Regions from separate parts of the Homo sapiens genome. Here regions 1, 2 and 3 are each linked to region 4. Evidence: promoter capture Hi-C in 16 types of primary human blood cells and fetal thymus (Javierre and others, 2016). All regions are on one chromosome and are shown on one strand. The core of a region is centred on a gene start or on the middle of the fragment in contact, and the rest is flanking DNA. Distances in the headings are between cores, read along the strand shown. Region 1 overlaps GPR84-AS1 (GPR84, ZNF385A, ITGA5 and GTSF1 antisense RNA 1). Region 2 overlaps LOC105378250 (a long non-coding RNA gene). Region 3 holds the start of NFE2 (nuclear factor, erythroid 2). Region 4 holds the start of HOXC6 (homeobox C6).

Region 1 (2,700 bases), core at 109-2,608, 360 kb before region 4:
CCAGGGGCCAGACCTAAAATGTCTTCCACTGTTGTGAGGAGGAAATAAGGAAGGGAAGTGGGCTGTGAAAATTGGGCTGGTGTCATGGGTGTGTCACTGTGTAGGGCCTGTACTTTTGAGAGAGTGACAAGTTCTTACCCGTGGATGCACAATATAAGGAAGAAATTCCTTGAGCTCAGAAATGCCACAGATGTAATCTAGTATGAGCCTCTCTTTCCCTGAGCTCTAATTCTCAGACTCCTGGTCTAAGTTTCTTCTCCCAAATCTCCCAACCCTCCGAAGGAAGTGTGGCTCCCACCTTGAGACTTGAATAATCCAGACGAATTTAAGTGTAGGGGGGCTAGAAGGCCTGAGCCCTATCCTTGTCTGTGTTGGTGGAGATGAAAAGGAGAAGGAAAGGAGGCCTTAGGAAGTGAACAGAGCAGCTGGGGGTGCAGGGAGGGGGAGGGGGCTCAGGAGAGGCAGCTGGCAGGCGGGAAGCTGATCTGGGGGTCTCAAGTTTCTTGACATCAATTAGAGCAGCCGGCCTGGGCTCATTAGTAGCCCGGGGTGCAGGGCTCATCAATAATGAATTCACCCCACACACCTTCCCCCCACCCCAGCTGCCTGCAAGGTCACCCCGTCCTCTAGCCAGCTGCTTCCCCTTGGTAAGCTTAAGCAACCCCTCTTCTGAGATCTTCCTAACCCAGAGTCCCTGGGGCAGTGTGGCAGGGTGGACAACAGCTGAGCGCAAAGGGGTCTCTAAAACCAATCGACCATGCCTGATGATGGCTCTTGTTTAGTCTCTGAGTCCACCCAGGAGGAGAAAGAATGGGAAGAGGAAAGGAGGTGCAGGGTCTAAGGAGAAGCAAGGGTTTTTCATACTGGAGTTGACCAGCATGGTGGTAGGTCAGACCCAGAGCAGGAGGACCTCCTCTGATGGACCCAGAAACCCCATATCCTCTCCCAAGGCCAATCCCCTGAGATCTCTGCCCCACTGAATCAGAATGAGACTAAGGCATTGGCACTCCCAGCATTCTCTCCCTTGAGCTGGAGTGTCTTGGCAGGTACAGAAACAGGTCTTTTCTTCAAACCAGATTACTGGCGTGAGGGCAAGAGATTGCTGGGACCCAGAAACAGAAACTCAAACTTCCTGCACCTTAATTGACCATCCAGTCCCAATTTCCCTCCAGAACCCAGGAATGTCAGTCTCTTTCCCCTTCCTAAACCATTCCGAAACTTCAGTCCCACCACCCTTTCACCAACTTCTTCCCCTCAGCTTCTACCTCCCTAAACCTCAAACGTTCCAGTTCCCACCCACTTTTCCTCTGATTGGGGTTGGCCTGAAGCTGGCTGTGTGGCATTCTGGGAAATCTGGCTGCCACCCTCCCTCTTGAGACAAGTACAGACAGATCCAGCCTCCATCTCCCCCAGACATCTGCATTCTCCAAGACTCCTACCTTGTACTGGGGTCCCTTAAGAATACCTCTGAGTGGGCTGCGTGCGGTGGCTTACGCCAGTAATCCCAGCACTTTGAGAGAGCGAGGCAGGCGGATCACCTGAGGTCAGGCGTTCGAGACCAGCCTGGCCAACATAGTGAAATCCTGTCTCTACTAAAACTACAAAAATTAGCCAGGCGTGGTGGCGGGCACCTGTAATCCCAGCTACTCGGGAGGCTGAGGCAGGAGAATGCTTGAACCCGGGAGGCAGAGGTTGCAGTGAGCTGAGATCGTGCCACTGCACTCCAGCCTGGCGACAGAGCAAGACTTGGGTCTCAAAAAAGAAGAAAAAAGAAAAAAGAAGAAAAGAATACCTCCAAGTGGCCTGTACTTCCTCTCCCTCCTGACATTCTCCCCTGCTCATACATTTTGTCCTACCCTCCATCTTCCCCTCCACCTCACGAAATGCCCCCCCACCAGTCCTCCTCGACCGAAGCTCGCCTTAGTGGGGAATGCCGCTGATTTAGCCCTGGATAGATGCTCCCTGATGCCACCCCACCCTAATCCAGGTCATCTCTACAAGGTGCCTCAGTTCTGAATTTTCTGTCATCTTCCAGTTGCCCTAATGATCTCGGTTACAAGCTTCTATTTCCATCTCCTCAGGTCCATTGATTGCAATCTCCTCGCTGAGACCTTCCCTAAGGACCCAGGCATTCAGACCCCAGCCAGAACTCAACCTGGGATCCATCTTCAACATCCCATTTCACCTCAGAGGCCCAGCCCCCAGGCATCCTGCTCCAAAGCCAGAACAACAAACTAGGACCCATACAATTTCTGCTGCACTTCCCCTGCCCCCTGCTCAGTCCATTACTCTGGAGGGAACCTAGGTATCCTACCCAACCCAAGGCCCATCGCCTCCCAGAGTACTTAGGCACCCCCGCCCCCCTCCCCCCCCCACTCCCCTGCCCACCCCATATCAGCCCAGCACCAGACTTCCCGCCCTCAGACTCAGCCCTTCCCGGGAACCCAGGCATCCTAGTTTCCAGCTTCGTCCATCACCTCACACCGTCTTCTAGACGTCCTGTTCCCCCAGCCCTGGCCGCAGTGACACCGTAAACCCAGGAGGCCAGCAGGCAGCAAGAAGAAGGGCGGGAGGAAGCGGGAGGGGCCAGGACGCCCCCTCGCGGAGCCCTGAGTGCCCGGGTCCCCTCCTCCCGTCTTCACCTGCTGAGGGCCCCGCCCCCGCTCCGCCTCGGCCGGCCTCTGCTCCTCCCCGGCTCCT
Region 2 (2,700 bases), core at 62-2,561, 270 kb after region 4:
CAGTAGAAGGGGAAGTGGGGCAGAGGAGGAGGAGAAATAGAGGAAGGCAGGCAAGGGAGGCATGTTCTGGGGAGGGTGCTGGGGACAGTCTTTGGTCAGGGGTCAAGGGGAGAGGAGTAAAGAGAGGTAAGGACTGAGGAGAGATCTGCATTTGAGAATAAAATTAGCAGCATGCAAAGGATAAGGGAGATAAGACACCAGTGACGCCCAATTACTTTGGGGTCAACAATTTAGACACCTACTGAGAAGCCATGACCGATGCCTTCAAGCAACTCTCTACTAACAGACCCCACAAATATATACATGAAACCCATGAAAGGAGAAACTGAGGCATAGAGTAGAGATCCTGAGACCACTGAATGTGCATGAATCTAGGTTTTCAGGGACCACAGATAGAGTAACCAGCCAAGTTTCTGAAGACCTAAGACTTAGCATGACAACCTGGACCCTGCCTTTTTTCCCCAGGCTTTCTTGAGGCTGAGGAAGTAGCTGAGCTCTGCAAAGACCAGCTCCCCCAGCTCCTCTCACGGCCGGGGAAGACCCTAAGAACATTAACTCAGGCAATCTAAGGGGAAATTATCCCCACATCCACTCCTTCCCTGCCAGCCTCATGCAAGGTCCAAGAGGCCAGATGTCCCAGGATAGACAGAGCCTAAGGAGTCTCCTTAGCAGCAGGAATAACTTTATCACAGCTTATCTGGGCCTCCCAGAGGTAAATTGAAAGGCTGCGAGGAAACAACTGAGGTCCCTACCTATTCCTACACCCATCCCAAAGGGGTATGGGTAGAAGGCCAGGGGACAGAATCAGAAGGACTTCACAACCTAGGAGAAAAGGAGAAAAGCCGGTTCCCAGGCAACAGCTAGGTCAGTCAGTAGCTGAAAAGACCCCCAAGGCAGCTGTAGCTCTCTGTTCCTCGCCTGAGTCTCTCAAGCCTGCAACCGGGAAGCTCTGCAGTACCAGAGAGGGCCGCTAGGGAGTGCTCGCCAACAGCCAGGCTCCAGAAAGGAAGCAGCCGGCCAAGCCAAGAAGACCGGAAGGCAATCGATCAGAGTCGCCCTGGCAACCGGGCTGAGCCCGAGACAGACAGCACGTCGATAATGAAATCATCGTTAAATGACTTCAAGCCCTAATTAATAATCCAGGCCAACCGAGGCCATGCCTGACTGGGGTCGGGGGAGGGGATGTCATTGTTGGGGAGCACTGGAAGCTTCTGGACAATTAATCAATTAATCCACTCACTCAATAATTGGCTCCTTTGTCCTCTGCCATGCCCCTCCCCCACCTCATCCACCTCTGACTGTGGAGAGGGGAAGAAGAGATGTTGGGCTAATAGTTTCCAAGGGCCACAGTTCCTCCCTCTCCCCTCCTTTTTATCCACACATCTGTTTCCTGAGCCAGCTCACAAAAGCTTCCCTAAGTCAGGACTTGCCTGCGCTCTTCCACAGGACCTACCAAAGAGTGAACATTTCAGGACCCGGAGTCCCCTGCTATCCAGGTACCTCCCCAGATCCCCTGCTCCCTACCCCACTTCCTCCCATCTCATCCCCCCTCCCCAGTACACACACACACACACACACACACATCACTGACCCACAGCCCACTCTGACTCTGACTGAGGAAAGAGCACTAAACAGTGAATCATGAGAGTTAGCTAAATCCCAGCCACACCAGCTCACCACTTACATACATAACCTTGAGCAGGTTACCTGCCCTCTCCAAGGCCTCCATTTCCTCATCTGAAACCTGAAAGAGGCCAAGTGCAGTGGCTCACGTCTGTGATCCCAGCACTTTGGAAGGCTGAGGCAGGAGGATCGCCTGAGCCCAGGATTTCAAGGCCTAGCCTGAGCAACATAGCAAGACCCCCATCTCTATTTAAAATAAAATAAAACCTCAAGGGATCCAACTGATTTCCAAGGTTCCTTCCTGTGGTATCATCTATTATTACAATAATCAGATCTTTTCCCACTCCTCTCTACTCCGTTCTCTTACTTTGGGGAGGTAAGAGGGAGATTGTAAGGAGTTCCAGGTCCTCATTTATCAGGTGCTTCATCCCCAAAGAACTTACCTCGAGAGCCAGAAAAGGGGATGGTAGAAGAGTACATGGAGGGAAGGCTCCCCCAGCCCATCCCCCACCTGGCCGGTCCTTCTGGCCCTTGCCACCCACCTTGCTTATTGCTCTCCACAACCCCCAGCAGGAAATGAAAAGGCCACAGGAAATTGCGCTTTAAATCCCCTAGCTCCTGGTTCCCTCCACCAAGCCAGGGAGCTGGGGGCAGGCTAACTTCACAGACCAGGCTTTCTCTGTTTGTAATTAGTAAGACACTTAGGAGGAGAAAGGGGTCCCTGCAAAAAGAGCCCCTCTCTCCAAAACAGCTAATCAGGTTATCCAAAAAACTGGTGCTGGGGAAAGCATATGGGATTTGCAGAGAAGAAAGAACCAGAGGATCTTGGGCAAGATGAAGACAGCTGGTGAGACATGGACTGGATAGGTAGGTGGTAGCCTCCTTTCTGGGAGAGGTGATTTATAGCGCCACCTGAGGCCAGGAGAAATGGTGTGCAGCCAAAGGCTGGGATGGGCAAAGAGCGTAGAGAGGGGACCCTCCAGAGACGCCCTGCAGAGAGGACCAGGGAGCAAAACCCACCAGGTCCATCCCACCCCTGTGGACACTTAAGAGGTTAATAAAGTTCAGAATGTTCAG
Region 3 (2,700 bases), core at 200-2,699, 270 kb before region 4:
GGGGATCTTAGAGGAGAACTAGGCTATTGGTGGAGTCGTGGGGGACACTTAGAGGGCTCACAGCAGCTGCCTTTTATCAACTAGGACTGAACATTTTCATTATTTTAACAGCAAATACAATCCCATCAGAGCATGCTGGTTGAATGCCAGTCCTACTCCAGAGTGGCACCTATCTGCTTCCCCAGTCTTCAGATGTTTCTAATTTAACTTGAACATTGTAAGAAGAAAAAATGTAAGCTGCAGATGTCAGGATTGAAGCTAGACATATAGAGCTGAAAGCCATTACAAATTAGGAGGAAGAAAGGCTCTTTTCTCACAGTCTGTGGAGAAAGATGTTTGACCTGGGGCTTTGGTGGTGTAGCTTGCAGGCAAAAAGATGAATAAGTGGGCTGGGTGAGGTGGCTCATGCCTGTAATCCCAGCACTTTGGGAGGCCAAGAGGGGAGGATTGCTTGAGCCCAAGAATTCAATACCAGCCAAGGCAATATAGTGAGACACCACTTCTACCAAAAAAAAAAAAAAAAAAAAAAATTAGCTGGGCATGGTTGCACTGACCCATAGAACCAGCTACTTGGGAGGCTGAGGTGGGAGGATTGCTTAAGCCTGGGAGTTTGAGACTGTAGTGAAACATGTTCACACCACTGCACTCCAGCCTGGGAGACAGAGTGAGCCCCTCTCTGGAAAAAAAAAAAAAAAAAGATGAATAAGGGTACTTACTGGCCTAACAGAGTTGGGTGCCATGTGGCTGGGGTGCTTTGCCTGGGAGAAAGGAGGACAAAGGACACCTGGGGTCCCCTTTACGGGAGGTGAATAATCTCCCTGCTGGGTGGCCCCCCACCTAACTCCCTTCACACACTGACAAAAACCTGGCCAAGAAAGAATCCTTTGTCCTGGGACTTCTGAGGCTGAGGGGGGAGGGGAGAAGGCTACAGGTGAAAGGACACATCAAAGCAGTCAGTTGCCCCTCCTCCTCCAAATAGTTCCCCTGCCCTTGTTCCCAGAGCCCAGGTTTTCTGTAAATGAAGGCTATACCCTAAACGTCCAACTGCCTAGACAGCTGGGAAGCTAGACACCTGGTCCTTACCTTCAGCTGCCTTCCACCTTGATATGACTCAGTTTCCCTGTCCCTAGGAGAGCCGTGGGGACACAAGGCGACGACAACCTGTATAAAGTTTAAAGGTCACATTCGAGTGGACCATCAGGTTGGAATTCGTCAAATGCATGGGAGAAACGCAGACCTGGCTGGACTCCTGGGCTGAAAAGGAGGGCTGGGAGAGGCTTGGAGCCATGTGTGCCCCCGCTGGCCAGGAGCAAGGTGGGGGCGGGGTGTGGGCAGAAACCACATCGGGCTCAAGTTTCCTCTCTTGGCCGAAAGGGGCAGGAGGAGAGGAGAGCCACGGGGAAAGGGGAGGGTTGGAGGAAGGACTGAGAACTCAGGCCGAGGGCTTCAGACGCTGGTGCGCCTGCTTGGGGCTCCTGTGCTCAGCTCAGCCTGAGCTTCCACACTCAGCGCTCAGCAATGGCCCGGGGGCGGGGCGCGGTCCTCGCAGATTCTCAAAGGTAGCCGGGATCCTCGTCCAGCAGTGTCAGCTCAGGCTCAGCCTCCCCAGAGACAACACCGGGAGCCTCATCTCTCTCCTCACCCTGCTGTGACTCCACCACAGGTGCCTGAAAGGCAGGGTGTGTGTGGGGGGGGCGGATTCCAGTGAGATCCGAGGGGCAGGCTGGGGGGTGAAGGAGGTGAGGGGGGAAAATAACCAACTTTCGGTATCCTAGGAGACCTCAGACTTTCTAGATTGCCCCTGGTTTAGGAATCTGACATATTTGGGAACTCCTCTAGGAGAAGACCTAAGTGGTTTCTTGGGTGCTCTGGGATCCTTGGGGTGGAGGCTGTGAATGGGGATCAGAGAGGGGTCTCCAGAGGCAAGGCACCGCTGAGGGGCTGGGGAGTAGCCAGGAGGAATCCTTCAACTGGTGGGCTACCCTGAGGGAACCAATAGACTACCCTTTCCCCAACTCCATTCCATTACTCTGCCCTGTCTAGGCAGCTGAGAAGGTTTAGGGAAAGCTGAGGAATTGGAAACACTGGATATCTGAACCTCTGAGAAGTGTTGCAAGGTGCGGGGGTTGGATGGGAGATTGCCTCTGGGTTGTTGGCTCCTTTGCCCTTTCTCTTCTCTGTGCCCAGGGGCAGTAGAGATCAGCTGGACCTGGAGGGAGAAGGAAGACATCCCAACCCCAGCATAGTTGCTTCTAACTGGAACTCTTGGCTGCTTGGGAAATAGGGGCTTGGGAAGCAGTGGAAGAGAAGAGAGGAGGTATCAGAACTGCTGGGGCTGGGATCCCCTAGACATCGGTACCAAAGGACTGGAGTTTGGGGTCCAGGGATGAAGTGACACAATAGCAGAAACTCGTCCCCCTCTTCTTTGTTCTCACACATTTGTTTGAGTCATGCATGTCCCTAGGGCACTGAGCTCACTATGCTTAAATCTCTCTCCCTCCTTTTTTTCCCCTTCATTCTGTCTCATCTCTGTGTGTCTCTCTCTCTTCGGGAGTTCTCCCTAATCTTTCTAAATAGGTTGCTTACCGGTTAACCAATACCCCAAGTTTTACTAATCCCTCCTCATCCTTTCACTGCACCTATTGACACCTGGAGAGGTGAGGTGGTCAAATAAGCCTCAGAAAAGGGATCCTGAGGCAA
Region 4 (2,700 bases), core at 170-2,669:
GATTAGATTCTTTTTTCCACTTCATCCGGCGGTTCTGGAACCAGATTTTGATCTGTCGCTCGGTCAGGCAAAGCGCGTTGGCGATCTCGATGCGCCGGCGCCGCGTTAGGTAGCGATTGAAGTGAAATTCCTTCTCCAGTTCCAGGGTCTGGTACCGCGAGTAGATCTGGCGGCCGCGCCTCCGGTCCGCTCCGTAGCCGACCCCTAAAGATCCGGGCACAAAACACACTAAAAGCAATCAGCAAAGCGTCCTCTGCAGACTGTTTCGCCTAGCAAAGTCCTGACCCTCCCAACCTGGCCAGCAGCTCACAGCCTCCTTAGGGCTCTAGCCTTCTCCCTTTTGCCTTGCCCCACCCCCACTGGGGGTACAGCGAGGACCCCAACTTCAGACCTCCTATAAGGTGGGACCTGTGTGTCCCAAAGAAAGGTGTGTGGTGGGGGGGGGGGCGGGGGGGCGGGGCAAAAGGCAAACAGAAAGCTGCAAGTCTAAAAGCAGATTTTTGAAAAATCCCAGATAATGGGGATGAGGGCCCCCTTTCTCAAGGACTGGGCTCCCCCATCTCCCCAAGCATCCTAGTTCCTTGGAAACTTCTCCCCACTTATCTGCCTCTCCTCTCCCCCTCCCTTCTCCTCAGACTGACTCCACTTTGGGGGGCTCCCCTATCTTCTGCTCCCTCCCCTCATCCCCTGCCCTGTTCCTGCCCCCTCAGCCCGCCTTGGGGCCCTCCAATCCGTCAGGGGCCAAGGGGGCCAGGCCCCTGCAAGCGAGCGAGAGGCGAGCTGAGGGGGCAGAAGAGGGGGCCCTGTCTCGGTGAGGAGACGAGCGTGATTGTTTTTATGGGGCCATAAAAAACTCTCTCCGCCCGTTCTTCTAGGGAAGCCGGTCATAAAGCCAGTTCAGTTTATTTAATTTATATCTCGGAGCTGTAAAACTCACCACTGTGCGAATTCATTCGCTGCATCCAGGGGTAAATCTGGATACTGGCTTTCTGGTCCTGGGGCGCAGTCCTGCCCTGCTCAGAACTAAAATCCTGAGCGATTGAGGTCTGTGTGTTATGTCCTAAGGTGTTTTGTCTGCAGTTTGAGAGCATGTCTTTCTCCTGGTAAAAGGAATTAGATCCATAGTCATACGGCCCCCGGCTGGAACTGAACACGACATTCTCCTGTGGCGAATAAAAGGGAGTCGAGTAGATCCGGTTCTGGGCAACGGCCGCTCCATAGGTCGAGAAATGCCTCACTGGATCATAGGCGGTGGAATTGAGGGCGACGTTGGGGAGGACGTCCTGGCCCCCGGCGAGGTGGCAGGATAAGGAAGGGTTAGTGAAGTAGGAATTCATCCCTTTGCCTTTACCTGGTCGGTCTATGATTTCTTTAATATTTATTTCTGTCTCCAGTTTGTACTCGGAACTAGATGGTTATAGGGACGGCTCCAATCCAGGACAGACAAAATGACAAAGTCAGCTGACCCCCTCCCAGCCAATCGCAAGCCAGATGTCAGGAAGGGGGAAAAAAATCGCTTCTGCTTCTGTTGATTCCCTAGTTGAGACTAAGTGTGTGCTTTGAAAGTAAGACTTGGATTTCTTTTAAAAAATATATATATATATATATATATGTAAGGGAACTGGTTTGGTGGTGAAGGAGGGGTGCATGTCCCTGAGCAGGGCCTTGGGACTCAGGGAAGGAGAGCTGTACTACCAGGAAATCTCTCAGCCCCAGCTAACTTTGCTGTGCTGTGGCCAGAGCCAGGGCTAGAGAAACCCCTGTATTTTCAATCTGGTTTCATGTTTTATATCTGCCCCCTTCTAAAATTACATCCTGATTTCTCCAAGGGAAGAACTCCCTCCCAGCACAGGAGGGGGGTCCCTAGAAATCCTGCAGGAAATCCTGTTTTGACACTCCATGGAGTGAGTCCCATCACTAAACTAGTATTTTTTTCACCAATAATTAAAAAAAAATCAAAAGTAGAAAGAAATTTCATAAAACCTGTTCCCCTGAGTAAGTAGAGTGTGGCTGAGAGTCTTGAATGTAGTAGGGATGTGGGGAACAACTAGGTCTAAAGGGGCAAGACTTCAGGGTACAGTGGCAGAGCTGGAGTGGGCAAATGGGCCACGCATCTGCTCTCCTTTGCCTCCTGGCTCCCTTCTGCCTCCTTCTCAGGACCCCTCTGTTGGGAAAACTCTTCCAGCATTTTTGCCTAAAAGGGAAAATGTATAAAAAATGCAATAGAAAAAGGAGAAAAAGAAGTAAAATGTAGGGAGGTGGCACCGGAGGGGGAAAGACAGAGAGAAAGAGAGAGAGAGGAAGAACGAAAACTCTGAGAATCTTTCTAGAGACATCAACTCCTGTTTATGTTGGTGAGAATTTATTATTTGGAGCCAGTGAGGGCCTGTGGGGTAATTCACATAGGATCCAGCCAGAAAGAGAAGGCTGGTGGGGCTCTGATGGACAGTTAGCTTCCTGCAGGCTCAAGCCCCTGCCTTGGTCAGAAGCCCCCCTGCCCCCTCCAGACTCAGGGCACCGCCAGTGGAGGCGCCCCTGGACCTGAGCTATGAGGCTTGGAGACTTCAGAAAGGGGTTCTAAGGAGCTCTCACCCAAGTGCCAGTCACCCGTGGTGGGGATGGGCCTCTCAGCAACCTCAACGCCCATTTTATTCCCCCATCTTGGGGCTAAAAAAAGGGAAGAGACGGTTACGAAAAGGC

What was found. Contacts are between HindIII fragments. The CHiCAGO score rates a contact against its expected background, and 5 or more counts as called.
Region 1: a fragment that was not itself captured here is called in contact with the fragment with the promoter of HOXC6 in region 4 in 1 of 17 cell types (total B cells); the score reaches 5.0 in total B cells.
Region 2: a fragment that was not itself captured here is called in contact with the fragment with the promoter of HOXC6 in region 4 in 1 of 17 cell types (M1 macrophages); the score reaches 5.2 in M1 macrophages.
Region 3: a contact is called between the fragment with the promoter of NFE2 here and the fragment with the promoter of HOXC6 in region 4, in 2 of 17 cell types (activated CD4 T cells and naive CD8 T cells). The highest score is 8.2, in activated CD4 T cells.

What each region holds. Positions count from the first base shown.
Region 1 is chr12:54,391,322-54,394,021 of GRCh38, reverse strand. The region is part of intron 1 of GPR84-AS1 (GPR84, ZNF385A, ITGA5 and GTSF1 antisense RNA 1); the gene reads right to left. Among named protein-coding and RNA genes, the nearest start is that of ZNF385A, 7.9 kb to the right of the region's middle. RefSeq lists a silencer at 2,515-2,700. The HindIII fragment of the contact is 1,408 bases long and covers 655-2,062 here.
Region 2 is chr12:53,755,610-53,758,309 of GRCh38, reverse strand. The region is part of intron 1 of LOC105378250 (a long non-coding RNA gene); the gene reads right to left. It also overlaps a transcript of CISTR not described here. Among named protein-coding and RNA genes, the nearest start is that of CISTR, 5.0 kb to the right of the region's middle. RefSeq lists an enhancer at 867-916. The HindIII fragment of the contact is 201 bases long and covers 1,211-1,411 here.
Region 3 is chr12:54,299,764-54,302,463 of GRCh38, reverse strand. It overlaps NFE2 (nuclear factor, erythroid 2), which reads left to right and starts at 1,449. Exons shown (of 3, transcript NM_001136023.3): 1 at 1,449-1,663. RefSeq lists an enhancer at 562-1,302 and a cis regulatory region at 703-1,677. The HindIII fragment of the contact is 10,882 bases long and covers 1-2,700 here.
Region 4 is chr12:54,027,159-54,029,858 of GRCh38, reverse strand. HOXC6 (homeobox C6) reads right to left here and starts at 1,419. Exons shown (of 2, transcript NM_004503.4): 1 at 938-1,419; 2 at 1-204. The coding sequence starts at 1,337. It also overlaps a transcript of HOXC4 not described here and a transcript of HOXC5 not described here. The HindIII fragment of the contact is 15,214 bases long and covers 1-2,700 here.